Linked DNA regions of Homo sapiens: region 1 is linked to region 2. Evidence: promoter capture Hi-C in human tissues and cell types (Jung and others, 2019). All regions are on one chromosome and are shown on one strand. The core of a region is centred on a gene start or on the middle of the fragment in contact, and the rest is flanking DNA. Distances in the headings are between cores, read along the strand shown.

Evidence for each region. Contacts are between HindIII fragments. The study calls those that stand out against the background at their distance.
Region 1: a contact is called between a fragment that was not itself captured here and the fragment with the promoter of CDIP1 in region 2, in 1 of the 25 tissues and cell types used here (dorsolateral prefrontal cortex).

What each region holds. Positions count from the first base shown.
Region 1 is chr16:3,772,381-3,775,175 of GRCh38, forward strand. It overlaps CREBBP (CREB binding lysine acetyltransferase), which reads right to left. Exons shown (of 31, transcript NM_004380.3): 12 at 2,189-2,313; 13 at 1,371-1,550. Among named protein-coding and RNA genes, the nearest start is that of TRAP1, 56 kb to the left of the region's middle. The HindIII fragment of the contact is 3,238 bases long and covers 1-2,795 here.
Region 2 is chr16:4,537,482-4,540,249 of GRCh38, forward strand. It overlaps CDIP1 (cell death inducing p53 target 1), which reads right to left and starts at 1,292. Exons shown (of 6, transcript NM_013399.3): 1 at 1,221-1,292. It also overlaps a transcript of C16orf96 not described here. RefSeq lists silencers at 689-908, 919-1,208. The HindIII fragment of the contact is 9,452 bases long and covers 1-2,768 here.

The sequences.
Region 1 (2,795 bases), core at 131-2,630, 770 kb before region 2:
GAGAACTGTTTCAGTGCAGTGGTTCTATACTGGGGATACACTTCAGAATTATTTGTGAACATTTTAAAAATGATTCTGAATCACTGTTCTAGAGCAGGGGTTGGCAATCTCCCAGGGCAAACACACTGAGCTGCTTGTTTCTGTAAATAAAGCTTTATTGGCACACAGCCACCTCATTTATGTACCACAGCAGCTTCTGCACTACAAGAACAGAAGTGATGAAAACCAAGATTGAATGGCCTGCAAAGCTGAAAATATTTAGTATCTGGCCCTTTACACGAAGTTTGCTAATCCTTGTTCTAGAGAAATGAAATGTTATGGAAAGTTAAGAATAATCATTTAGTGAGGAAATCTAATATATAATAATGACTTATGCAGCATTATTTCACATTAAAAACTCAAAACAAGGCTGGGTACGGTAGCTTACTCCTGTAATCCCAGCACTTTGGGAGGCCGAGGTGGGTGGATCACCTGAGGTCAGGAGATCGAGATCAGCCTGGCCAACATGGTGAAATCCCGTCTCTACTAAAAATACAAAAAAAAAAAAAAAAAAAAAAATTAGCTGGGTGTGGTGGCGGGCATCTGTAACCCCAGGTACTTGGCAGGCTTAGGCAGGAGAATCGCTTGAACCCGGGAGGCGGAGGTTGCAGAGCCGAGATTGTACCACTGCACTCCAGTCTGGGCAACAAAACGAGACCCTGTCTTAAAACAGACAAACAAACAAAAAAAAACTTAAAACAAGAATTTTATCTTTTAGGGAGGATTTGGTGTGTTTTAAATACATGTATATTTTGTATACAGTAGCAATGATACGCACTACAACTAACAAAAGAGGAAAAAAGGAAGGAATAAATGGAAAATCAATTTCTTCAGCTCTAGATTGAGAAATTAAAAACATTTAACAAGAAGGGAACTATTGAAATGATTCTGTTAGCTTGATTTCACCTGGCAGTGGAGACAGGTCAAAAGAAACAAAAGCCAAATCATCAAGAGTGAATTCATGGGTCCTTCTCACTCGCTTTTTAAAATCCTAATGCCTCTCAGGGTCACGTTAAAGTTAGAATTTAAAATACACAAACAAAAAATAAGAAAACAAAAACTCAAAGATCAAAACACAAAAGCATACAAACCAAAAATTCTAAATCCATTCCCACTTTTGCATATAGTTAACCCAGAAAGGATAAGAGAAATTCCAAACGAGTTAAGGACTACAGGACAAAGGTGGAGAAAACAAAGAGAAGCTGATACAAAGACATGAAATGTGCATTCTGGAATTTTAATTTCCACGAAGGAAGACAGAAAAAAAAAACCAAAACTTAACACAAGAATTTTATTTCCTAGGGAGCCACGGTCCCAGTGGGGCACAGTACCTGTGACACGCCTGTTTGGGCTGGCGGCTGCCCCATGCCCACACTCATCGCCCCGCTGGATGACGGGAACTGGTTCTGTGGCAGAAACTGGCTCTGAGCGGGCGCCTGGGCCATCATGTTGTTGGTGTGTGCACCCATCATGTTCGGAGGCTGAGGCATTCGGGAAGGAGAAATGGCCATCTACGAGACAACAAGCACCACCAGAGCTGTAGTTCGGAAGCTGACGGCCAGAGTTTTCAAGGTGAGCCAGAATGATCCAAGGCTTCACAACCCCAGAGGATGGCAAGCACAGGGCTCACATCCTGCCCTTCCTCATGGGAAGAGACCACCACTTGCTAAGAACTCCCGCGCTCCTGGGCACCTTACACACTTTCTCAGGCAATCTCTCAAATGAGCCAGCTTCAAAATGTCCTCTGAATAGAAATCAATAGCAGGCTATAATTTAAAGTTTAAGACATGCCTATGAGTTCTCTAAAGTGTTTAGAAAGCAGCCTCGGAACAGCGAGCTCTCAGTCAACAGATGCTGACAATTCCCTGCTGGCCACATATCTGAGGCTGCCTTCTCCAGCCTTGGAACTCCCACATTCTCACAAAGCCACACATTCCTATGAATTTGTTATTCCAATAAAATAACTAACAGTCAAATAATTCTGTGTAGTAATAATTTTTTTAAAATGAGAGATGAAAGAAATAAAGCATAACCCAAATTCAAAGGAACAAGAACCACAGGATTCTCAAGTGACATGAATTCTGCTGCTTAGATAATGTTCCATGTGAGAGGGAGGGCTATCTGCAGCACAGCGAAAGAGAACACTTACCCCTGGCACTGAGCCCATGCTGTTCATCTGGACAGAGTGGTTCATTGGGGAGGCTGCACGAGGTCCCATGGGTGCTTGTGGCAACTGGACGTTCCCCAAGGACATGGGGTTAAATGAATTCATCCCTGTAAATGTACCCACAACGGTTCATTAGGAAAAGCACCCACAGGAAAACAGAATTACAACTTGCTAAATAAACTCTTAAGTAAAATAAGATGGAACGCACAGGCAACAGAAAACTGAAAAGAAATCACCCAATTAATCAATGAAGATGATGAAGGAACAGACTTCTCCATATCCAGAGAAAACGGCATCAATGTGGGGGTGGTGACGGTGGCATGGTGAGGGGTACCAGGGAAGGACGAGGACATGAAGGCATAAGGTTGGGTAAGACAGGAACAAGTGAGACATTAAACGAGGCTGTGGTAGAGCTGAGCCAGAGGGCACAGTACCAAAGTGTCATAGCAACAAAGAGGGTGAGGAGGTGCCCTGAAAGGACAGCACCCTCACAAGCTACAGAAGAGATGTTTCCAGAGACCAGGGCAAGCTTCTGTGCACACCCATACCTAATGCCTCTGGAGCAGCTGACGCCCATCATCCGAGGATT
Region 2 (2,768 bases), core at 42-2,541:
GCAGTAACTTGCCCGGGCACCGCCCCGCCCAGCATCAGGCCCCAGAATACAGAAGAAACTGGCAGAAACACTATGGAACGTCCCTGCCCCCGGGCCCGCCAACCCCCTCACTGGGACAGGTTCTCAGCCCCAGCTGCGCCCGGGAATGATCTGGGGAGCCTACTAAATGCAGATTCCTGGGCAGCGCGACGGAACTACAGCATCCCAACACCTGGGGTGGGCCCCAGGAATCTGCCCGTTTCCCAAGAGCCCCAGGTGGTTCTGACGCAGAGGATCTTGAGCCCACCTTTGGAGGAACTCACAGCCACTCGCCCCACCTCATCTAACACCTGTTGAGAAGCCCCCCAAGGAACTCGCTAAGCCAAGGTCCTCGAAGGCGCGACTCCTAGCCCCAAGCTAGGCCAGGCCGTCGCCATCTCCGCCGGGGATGCGCGGCCGAGCGCCACATCCCGACTCCACACGTCGGCGAGCCGGGCGCGGGTGCAGGACACTGCTGGGCTCCGGGACGGCCAAGGTCACCCGCGGGGCTCGGCAGGGGCTGGCTCGGCCACGGGGCTCCTCCTCGACCCCCTTTCCTTGAGAAAACAACTCCCACCCCTCCCCTCCCCGTCTCGCCCTGCAAGACGGAGATGGCAATTTCCACAACCTTCCCTGACGGAAAAACGTGCGGGCGAGCAGGCTGCCATTCCGGGCGCACAACCCCGCGGCACACAGCGGGGCGCCCGCCCGGGCCCCGCCACCGCAGCGGCTTCGACATCCCCAGGGCCGCGCTAGGTCTCGGCAGCGCCCTGAGGGGAGGACGGGCCCCGCCATGCCGCGCCCCAACCGCCGGCCCCGCTTTACCTCCAGAAGCCCGGTGCCCGAGGCCGGCCGAAAGCGGAGAGGGGCCCGGGTCCGGACAGGCGCCGGCAGAACAAGACCCTCAGCCCCGCGCGGCTTTGCGCGCACAACGAAACCCCCCAACCCACCGCCCACCCCACCGCCCAGAGGCTTCTAGGACTTGTAGTCCGCCCGGTCACCCCCCCCACCACAACCCGCTCTGAGAGGCTGGGGACTACGGTGCCCGGCATGCACCGCCCAGGCGCCGCGGGCGGGGGCGGGGAGGGGGCGCCACGGTCCGAGGTCACGCCCCGACCTGAGGAGAGCTGGCGCCCAGACCCTTCCCCCGGGGAGGAGGGCTCCCGCGCGAAGCCGTCTCCGAATGCGTCCAGTCGACTCACCGTCCCCGCAGCCCTGGGGCAGCGGCCGCAACAGCAGGACCGAACGCCTCGGCAGCTGGCAGTCGCACTTCTGTCACAAGGAGGCGGGTAGACTTTGGACCAGGGCCGAGGCCCGGGACGTCACGGTGGGGGGTGGGGTCTCGGGAGGCACGTGATGCGCCGTGATGACGTCAGTGGGAGCGGAGGCGATTTGGCCTAGAGCTGGGGCTGAGCACGTGGGATGGTCGGGGCCTGTTTGCCCAATGTACACGAGGCTGGAGAATAGGGAAAGAACCGTCCCTGTGAGCGCCTCCTCTTCACTCATGCCAGCAACAGGGCAGGGCATCTTCCTCCAGGGCTGCATTTTTTCTTTTATGCGACTAATATTTATTGAGTTTGGGAGGTGCATTACATAAAACCTTGAACCACACGGTCACTGTCCCTGCGCTTGAAACTGCCTTTGCAAAAATTACAACAGAAAATTATGACAGTGAAAGAGAGCTGACCTAACCCACTCCATCTTGCTTCTAACCTCCAGGTTGTCCTTGTTCATTCCTAGGCATAGGCAGAACTAACTTTGGGAGCAACTTAGTTTATAGTTTAATATTGAAACAAAGATAGTTAACAGCCCTTTCCCAAAACAAACCCCCTTGTTGCCTGAGAACCAGGCTTCCTTTGTAAGAGTAACACGTTAGCTACAAGATTAGACATTATAGTTTAGGGCCCAGCTCAGTGGCTAACGCCTGTAATCCCAGCACTTTGGAAGGCTGACGCAGGTGGATCACTTGAGGTCAGGAGTTTGAGACCAGCCTGGCCAACATGGTGAAACCATGTCTCTATTTAAAAATACAAAAATTAGCCGGGTATGGTGGCACGCACCTGTAATCCCAACTACTAGGGAGGCTGAAGCCCAAAAATTGCTTGAACCCGAGAGATGGAGGTTGCAGTGAGCTGAGATTATGCCTCTGCACTCCAGCCTGAGCAAGAGACTGAGACTCCATCTCAAAAAAAGAAAGAAAGAAAGAAATTACGGTTTAGGAGTCATGCACCCAGAGGCCACAAGATTCTAAACCTCCCCAGTTGATCCTAGGTATAATATCACTATTGTAAAACCTAAGATTGGTACTCTTAGGTGTTTTTCTGACCCTGCAGTCTGATGCACCAGCCAAGGCCACCTAGAGCTGTAATCTGACTCAACCAGTTCTTGCATCCTTCAACACCCTGTGATTTCATCTCCCACCCCACCAATCAGCACTCCCTACTCCTTGGCAGCTTATCTACCAAATTACCCTTTAAAAACTCTAGGCTCTGAATTTCCAGGGAGACTGATTTGAGTAATGAAACTTTGGTCTCCCATTCAGCCAGCTCTGTGTGGATTAAACTCTTTCTCTATTGCAGTTCCCCTGTCTTGATACATTGGCTCTATCTGGGCAGCCAGGAAGAAGAACCCACTGGGTGGCTACTTGCTCAGGTACTTCCTTTGTTACAGACAGTATACAAGGAAACCACAAAATGCCCAGGACTGTGAAGGAGAGGAAGGGACGCCCTAACAGAGTTACGGGGTGGTGC